2 separate regions of the Homo sapiens genome follow, and region 1 is linked to region 2. The links are contacts of gene promoters, found by promoter capture Hi-C in human tissues and cell types (Jung and others, 2019). All regions are on one chromosome and are shown on one strand. The core of a region is centred on a gene start or on the middle of the fragment in contact, and the rest is flanking DNA. Distances in the headings are between cores, read along the strand shown. Region 1 overlaps CUL4A (cullin 4A). Region 2 holds the start of F7 (coagulation factor VII).

The links. The method cuts DNA at HindIII sites, captures the fragments that hold promoters and counts their contacts. A contact is called where the count stands out against the background at its distance.
Region 1: a fragment that was not itself captured here is called in contact with the fragment with the promoter of F7 in region 2 in 1 of the 25 tissues and cell types used here (spleen).

What each region holds. Positions count from the first base shown.
Region 1 is chr13:113,265,371-113,269,302 of GRCh38, forward strand. It overlaps CUL4A (cullin 4A), which reads left to right. Exons shown (of 20, transcript NM_001008895.4): 20 at 1-1,738. Among named protein-coding and RNA genes, the nearest start is that of MIR8075, 4.4 kb to the left of the region's middle. The HindIII fragment of the contact is 7,439 bases long and covers 1-3,932 here.
Region 2 is chr13:113,103,808-113,107,646 of GRCh38, forward strand. It overlaps F7 (coagulation factor VII), which reads left to right and starts at 1,984. Exons shown (of 8, transcript NM_019616.4): 1 at 1,984-2,098. The coding sequence starts at 2,035. The HindIII fragment of the contact is 23,631 bases long and covers 1-3,839 here.

The DNA of each region.
Region 1 (3,932 bases), core at 762-3,261, 160 kb after region 2:
ATCCTGTTTCCATTTTAGTTTATTTATTTTTAATTGAGGTGGAGTCTTGCTCTGTTGCCCAAGCTGGAGTGCAGTGGTGCAATCTCAGCTCACTGCACCCTCCGCCTCCTGGGTTCAAGCAGTTCTCCCACCTCAGTCTCCCAAGTAGCTGGGATTACAGGCACCCGCCATCATGCCCAGCTAATATTTGTATTTTTGTAGAGACGGGGTTTCACTATGTTGGCCAGACTGGTCTTGAACTCCTAACCTCAGGTGATCTGCCCGCCTTGGCCTCCCAAAGTGCTGGGATTACAGGCGTGAGCCACCATGCCCGGCCTGCCTGTTTCTGTTTTATAAAAGAAAGGAAAATCTATTTATATCTATTCTCTTATTTAGCAATATTTAATGTTTTATTGTTAAAGGTCAGTGTGGTAAAACAAATAGTATAGAAGAAATCATTGAAAAAGAAACAGCACTTAGACAGAAATGCTGTAAAAGTGGAAAGGAGAAGGTGAAATTACTTGCAGGTTAGATGGTTGCATACCCAGGTCATCTAAGGAGCAAATGAAAATCTGTGACTGAAGAAAGAATTCACCAAGTTAACCAGACACAAAATTAACAAAAACATCAGTAGCTTTCCTATAAATATAGGCTATAATGGAGGGTCATTTTTTATTTTTATTTAGAGACAGGGTCTTAACTGTCACCTGGACTGGAGTGCAGTGGCATGATCATGTTTCACGGCAGCCTCTACCTTCTGGGCTCAAGCGATCCTCTCTTCTCAGCCACCTGAGTAGCTGGGCCTACAGGTGTACATCACCACGCCCAGATAATTTTTATTGTATTTTTTATAGAGGCAGTGTCTTGCTATGTTGCCAAGGCTGTTCTTGTACTCCTGGCCTCAAGCGAACCTCCTACCTCAGCCTCCCCAAATGCTGGGATTACAGGCATGAGACACTGCACCTGACCAGAAGTCATTTTTTCAATAGCAACCCCCAAAAAAGATAAAATACCTAGTAACAAATAGGGAAACACCTATGTGAAAGGTATTATAACATTACTAAGGAACACAGGCCCTGAATAAGTGAAAGTTCTGTTGATTCTCACATTTTGCTATACAGTATCTTAAGATGTAAAACCTTCCTTTAAAACACAAGCGGATTCTAAAGTTAAAACAGAAAAGCAAATATGCCAGACTAGTCAAATTGTTTTAAATTCTGCTGTTTTTAGAACATTGTAATTGAAACAGCATGATGCTGGCCCTTTAAAAAGATTCCTGGAACAAGAAAGTCCACAAATAAGCCAAATACACAGGAACTCGGCGTGGCACAAAGGGGCCGTGTGTGATCAGGAACTGGAACTTTGCAACAACTACCCATGCTCAGAAGTTTGGGCCACCTTGAAAAGAGAAAAGTTGGATTAGACTCCTTTTTATACTAAGGGAAGTTCCAAGTGGTCAAGTATTTACGTGTAAAAAAATACATATATATGAAACCATAATCATAAGATACTTTTTTTGTAAATTGACTATTATTGTATAAATTTATAGAGTATAAAGTGATCTTATAAATTATGCATACATTGTGGACTAGTCAAGCTAGTTACATCCATCACCTCAAATACTTAACATTTTTGTAGTGAGAACATCTGAAATTTACTCTTAGCAATTTTGAAATGTACAATACTCAATTTTTGACTGTATTCACCATGCTGTACAATAGAACTCAGAAAAAGAAAAATATAGTCCTCCTTTCTAAGATTTTTGGACCCGTTGCCCCTTTATTTGTGTTTTTCCACTAAGTGATCTAGTGAATTCACATCGATTTTTTTAAAAAAGGATTGACATTAAATGACATCTTTTAAAGTCAACATGGGGGAAAACAAGGTTAAAAAAACTGGAACCCTTGCCGGGCACCATGGCTCATCCCTGTAATCCCAGCACTTTGGGAGTCTGAGGCGGGCGGATCACGAGGTCAGGAGATCGAGACCATCCTGGCTAACACAGTGAAACCCCGTCTGTACTGAAAATACAAAAAAAAAAGCCCAACGTGGCGGCAGGCGTCTGTAGTCCCAGTTGCTGGGGAGGCTGAGGCAGGAGAATGGCGTGAACCCGGGAGGCGGAGCTTACAGTGAGCTGAGATCACGCCACTGCTCTCCAGCCTGGATGACAGAGCAAAACTCCATCTCAAAAAAAAAAAAAAACTGGAACCATCTTGGATAAAATGTACGACAAAGTACTGATGAGTTTAATGTTAACAGAACTAGAAGTCAGCAAGAAGACCAGCAACAAGCCTTCGGATAAGTGAGTTCTTCATTAGCTTTAAGAGAGTGGGAGCAGAGGAAACGGGTACCGTGAGGGCAGACCTGCTTTCAAGAACAGATGAACAGCGGCTGAGAATGACTCCAAGAGGTCGCAGGAGCAGAGCTGCATTTCAGTGGCAGGTGACTGGGCATTGTCCTGCAGCAAGGCCCTAATATCCCAGGAGAGGGCAGGATCGAGGGCACAGGGAGTGGGGGCAGGTGAGGGCTGGCCATAGGTGTGGTGCCGGGGGAGACATTGGTTGTGACGGTGACCATGGCCCTAGGCTGGAGGGTGGGGGGGTCATGTAACATGAAGATTTAGGAGGTAAGCTTGGAGGGCGCAGCTGTTGGCAATGATGGTCTGGGTGAGGACAGACGGGGAACTGGGGCCAGAGCATGGGAGACAAGACCTGATGGTCGTCCAGCAGTCAGGGACGGTGACAGGAGCCAGTGATGGAGGCCCTGAGTGCAGGACAGCCCTGAGGCCTGGAGGTGGGCCAGCCAGTGAGAAGGGCGCACCCCCGCCGGGGTGTCCAGCAGCATGGAAGGAGCATGGCCTGGAAGCAGCAATGGGCAGAAGGGAGGGCCTCGCCCCAGATGCAGCCCCAGGGGGAGGGTCACGAAGTGAGCAGCGGGCCTCTGCCCCCTCCACGGAGGCATGGGCACCCTGTGGTGGGTTTGGAAGGAGAAACCAGGCAGTGGCCAGGCCCAGGCCTTGTGCAGCAGCCCGGGAAGTTCAGGGGAAGAGGAGTGCAGGTGTTAGGACCGCCTAGTAAGAACGTTTAGGAGATGGAGGTTTTGTCAACAGACTGAATTCAGAAAGGGCTGGAGGGGGCAGAGGTGACAGTTGGGCCATGTGAGAGTGAGAGGCCCAGCAGTGATGGGGGACAGGCTGGTGGGCTCTGGTGAGGGAGGTCAGCTCGAGGGATCTGAGACATTGTGAAATGATGGTCTCTCAGGTAAATTTGTGAGGGTATATTAAATTCGAAAATGCCCACACCTTTGACCCAGTAAGTTCCTTTCACTCACGTAGAATGATTTCTAGTACTGTTCTCGCACACACAGAAAATACCTTAAATGTCCTTCAATAAGGAAACAGACCATGTGCTAAGTCCATGCATGTGTGATATTCTGACCATGCAGCTTGAACCAAGATCTAGATGTCCATTTGGAGTGAGTGTCAAGAAATACCACGTAAGAAAAGAGAGCAGTGCCGTCCTGCCACCACTGTGTGTGCGGCCCGTGTACGTGTGAATAACGACGGCTCAACTCCAGAATGGAGTTCTGGAAGGCTGCGAGCAGGTATGCGAGAATCTTTTCTATGCATATACCATTTTGTATTTTTTTAATTTTGTGTCAAAAGAATGTTTAAAAGTAATGACAAATTATTAAGAAAACAAAATGGCCCCACCCACTGTGTTGTTTCTTTACCATAAAACACAAGGAATCAGCCAACCCAAAGTAATTGCACTTCCCCGCCCGCTCTCCTCCCAACCTAATCCACTGTTGTCATCAGTTATTTTATGGGTTACCTTTGTAATTGTAATGGACATATTGAAACCCTATTCTCTCGATCCATGAATATACTCAGTTTCTCATGAAAACCTCCTGTATTGGCAGGCCAGGCACAGTGGCTCACACCTGTAATCCCA
Region 2 (3,839 bases), core at 734-3,233:
CACCTGCTACTCCGTGTGGCCGGGTCCAGCCCCAGGCAAGGTTCCAGGCATGCCCCTGGGACAGACGTGGGAGGGAGACCAGCAGGCAGGTCCCCCTCAGGGAGGTATGGAGCGGGTCCCCGGGGCCAGGTGGAGCCCCTCACACCTGTGTCCTCAAGGACCCACACCAGGACAATGGCCATAGGCGGGCACCTGCAGCCGCCCTGGCCAGCAGTGAGACGGGCAGAGAGCCCAGCCAGATAGCCCGGTTCCTGCCCCCTCCCGCCTGCCCGCACAGAGAGGGCTGCATGCAGGTGAGGGTCCATCACCTGAAGAGCTTCACCAGCCCCGAGGCCATGAGCCACTGAATCTCTCAGGGGGTTTTGGCGCTTGAGGTTCCCCAGGTCATTCTGCTGCCCAGAGAGGGTTGAGGACCTCTGACCTGGAGCCCCAAAGGGGAAGGGTACCCTAAGACCAGCCAGCCATCTACTCTCAGGTGGGAAAGGGGTAGGGTTTAGATATGGCCCCCTCCCCTCCACGTCCTGAAATTACCTTGGGCTGTGCTGGCCGAGAGCCGCGGGGACCAGATTTGAGCTGGACGTGAGCTTTATTCCAGACGGAGCAGCTACTTTGTAAGCGATCTCCCTGGGATCGATATCATGGAGGGGCACAGATGGGCTTCAGCTGTGCTGGGTGGAAGAGAAAACATGCCCTGTCGGCCCCTCAGCAAGTGCTCTGCTCTCTGGACTGAGATGCAGGTCAGCAGCAAGCAGGGAGGCTTTGGGGGTGCTGGGGGCTGCTTTGAAAGGCACCCCTGAGCTAAGACTTGGCTGTTGGGAAGGAATCACCTCCCTCCCTCCAGCCGTAAAAAGAACTGGACATCAGCTTCCAAAGAAGTCATCAGCAATGCAACTGTTCACATGGAGGATACTCCCTGCTTGAGGGGTCAGACAGGCCTGCTGGGCAACCCAGGAGGCTTGGATGACCGTCTACCCCAGTGTTTTTGGGATGGAAAGTTCCACATTCTGAGAACCCTCAGTCCCTGGGCAACCTGGGGTGGTTAGTCACCACAGCTTGTGGCTTGGGCCCATGACAGCAGGTAGAAATGACGTGGACTGCCGCCAGCCGGGCACAGTGGCTCACGCCTGTAATCCCAGCACTTTGGGAGGCTGAGGCATGTGGATCACTTGAGGTCAGGAGTTCGAAACCAGCCTGGTCAACACGGTGAAACCCCATCTCTGCTAAAAAAAAAAAATATATATATATAAATTAGCCAGGCATGGTGACGTGCACCTGTGGTCCCAGCTACTCAGGAGGCTGAGGCACAAGAATCACTTGAACCCGGGAGGTGGAGGTTGCAGTGAGATTGCACCAGTGCACTCTCCAGCCTGGCAACAGAGCAAGACTCTGTCTCAAACAAACAAAACAAAACAAACAAAAAGACGTAAGATGTGGACCGCTGGAGAATGGGGGTGCTGCCTGCAGTCAAAACGGAGTGGGGGTGCCCAGCTCAGGGCCAGAATGATCCTATTCCCGGCACTTCTCAGTGAGGCTCTGTGGCTCACCTAAGAAACCAGCCTCCCTTGCAGGCAACGGCCTAGCTGGCCTGGTCTGGAGGCTCTCTTCAAATATTTACATCCACACCCAAGATACAGTCTTGAGATTTGACTCGCATGATTGCTATGGGACAAGTTTTCATCTGCAGTTTAAATCTGTTTCCCAACTTACATTAGGGGTTTGGAATTCTAGATCGTATTTGAAGTGTTGGTGCCACACACACCTTAACACCTGCACGCTGGCAACAAAACCGTCCGCTCTGCAGCACAGCTGGGGTCACCTGACCTTTCTCCTGTCCCCCCCACTTGAGCTCAGTGGCTGGGCAGCAGGGGATGCATGGCCACTGGCCGGCCAGGTGCAGCTCTCAGCTGGGGTGTTCAGAGGACGCCTGTGTCCTCCCCTCCCCCATCCCTCTGTCACCCTTGGAGGCAGAGAACTTTGCCCGTCAGTCCCATGGGGAATGTCAACAGGCAGGGGCAGCACTGCAGAGATTTCATCATGGTCTCCCAGGCCCTCAGGCTCCTCTGCCTTCTGCTTGGGCTTCAGGGCTGCCTGGCTGCAGGTGCGTCCGGGGAGGTTTTCTCCATAAACTTGGTGGAAGGGCAGTGGGCAAATCCAGGAGCCAGCCCGGGCTTCCCAAACCCCGCCCTTGCTCCGGACACCCCCATCCACCAGGAGGGTTTTCTGGCGGCTCCTGTTCAATTTCTTTCCTTCTAGAAACCAGCATCCAGGCACAGGAGGGGAGGCCCTTCTTGGTGGCCCAGGCTTTGGCGGGATTATTTTTCAAAGAACTTTAGGAGTGGGTGGTGCTTTCCTGGCCCCCATGGGCCCCTGCCTGTGAGGTCGGACAAGCGCAGGGAGTCTGGGGCCTCTCAGAGTGCAGGAAGTGCGCACAGGGTGCTCCCAGGCTGGGGAGCACAGGTAGGGGACGGTGCGTGGGGGATGGCGCCTGGGGCATGGGGGATGGGGTGTGGGAAACGGCATGTGGGGCGTAGGGGATGGGGTGTGGAGGATCGGGGGTGGGGATGGCGTGTGGGGTGTGGGGGATGGGCCGTGGGGGGGTGGGGCCTGGGAAACAGCATGTGGGGCATGGGGTGTGGGGGTGAGGTGTGGGAAAGTGTGTGGGGTGTGGGGGATGGGGCATGGAAAGGGCGTGTGGGGTGCAGGGGATGGGGCATGGAGGTGTGGGGGATGGGGTGTGTGGGGTGTCGGGGATGGGGCATGTGGGGTGTGGGGGATGGGGCATGGAAAGGGCGTGTGGGGTGCAGAGGATGGGGCATGGGGGGGTGGGGATGGCGAGTGGGGCTGGGGCCTGGGAATGGTGAGTGGGGCATGGGGATGGCGAGTAGGGGGTGTGGCGTGAGGATGGCTAGTGGGGCGTGGGGATGGCGTGTGGGGATGGCGAGTGGGGGGTGGGCTGTGAGGGACAGTGCCTGGGATGTGGGGCTGCAGCCCTAGCTCACAGCATGGCCTTATGACCCCGGCCACCTTCCTGCCCCAGGCGGGGTCGCTAAGGCCTCAGGAGGAGAAACACGGGACATGCCGTGGAAGCCGGGGCCTCACAGAGGTGAGCAGGGACTGCCACTGGTTTTGTCCTGGGGCCCAGTGGGGGCCAACATCACCTCCTTCCCCTCCCATGGCAAAGAGCCAGCCCGCGGGGTGGCTACTGCAGTGCCCCCCAAGGAGGGTGTTCCCTGCTCGAGAGGAAGTGACCGCTCCAGCTTGGCCTTCCCTGGGACTGGGGTGCAGGCGATTTTATCTTCTTTGCTCCATTCTGTTCCTTCCAGATAATCGTGTGTTCTTCATCAGGTTTTCCTCAGTTCTTGAGAGCTTTTCTGATGCAAATCTGCTTTCACCCCAGGGCGGTCACCGGCTCTGCTCACACCAGCCTCCAAGGGTGTGGGTGTCCCGGGAGTGTGGGTGTCCCGGGGGCGTGGGTGTCCCAGGAGTGTGGGTGTCCCGGGGGCGTGGGTGTCCCGGGAGTGTGGGTGTCCCGGGGGCGTGGGTGTCCCGGGAGTGTGGGTGTCCCGGAGGCGAGGGTGTCCCGGGAGTGTGGGTGTCCCGGGGGAGTGGGTGTCCCGGGAGTGTGGGTGTCCCGGAGGCGAGGGTGTCCCGGGAGTGTGGGTGTCCCGGGGGCGTGGGTGTCCCGGGAGTGTGGGTGTCCCGGGGGAGTGGGTGTCCCGGGAGTGTGGGTGTCCCGGAGGCGAGGGTGTCCCGGGAGTGTGGGTGTCCCGGGGGAGTGGGTGTCCCGGGAGTGTGGGTGTCCCGGAGGCGAGGGTGTCCCGGGAGTGTGGGTGTCCCGG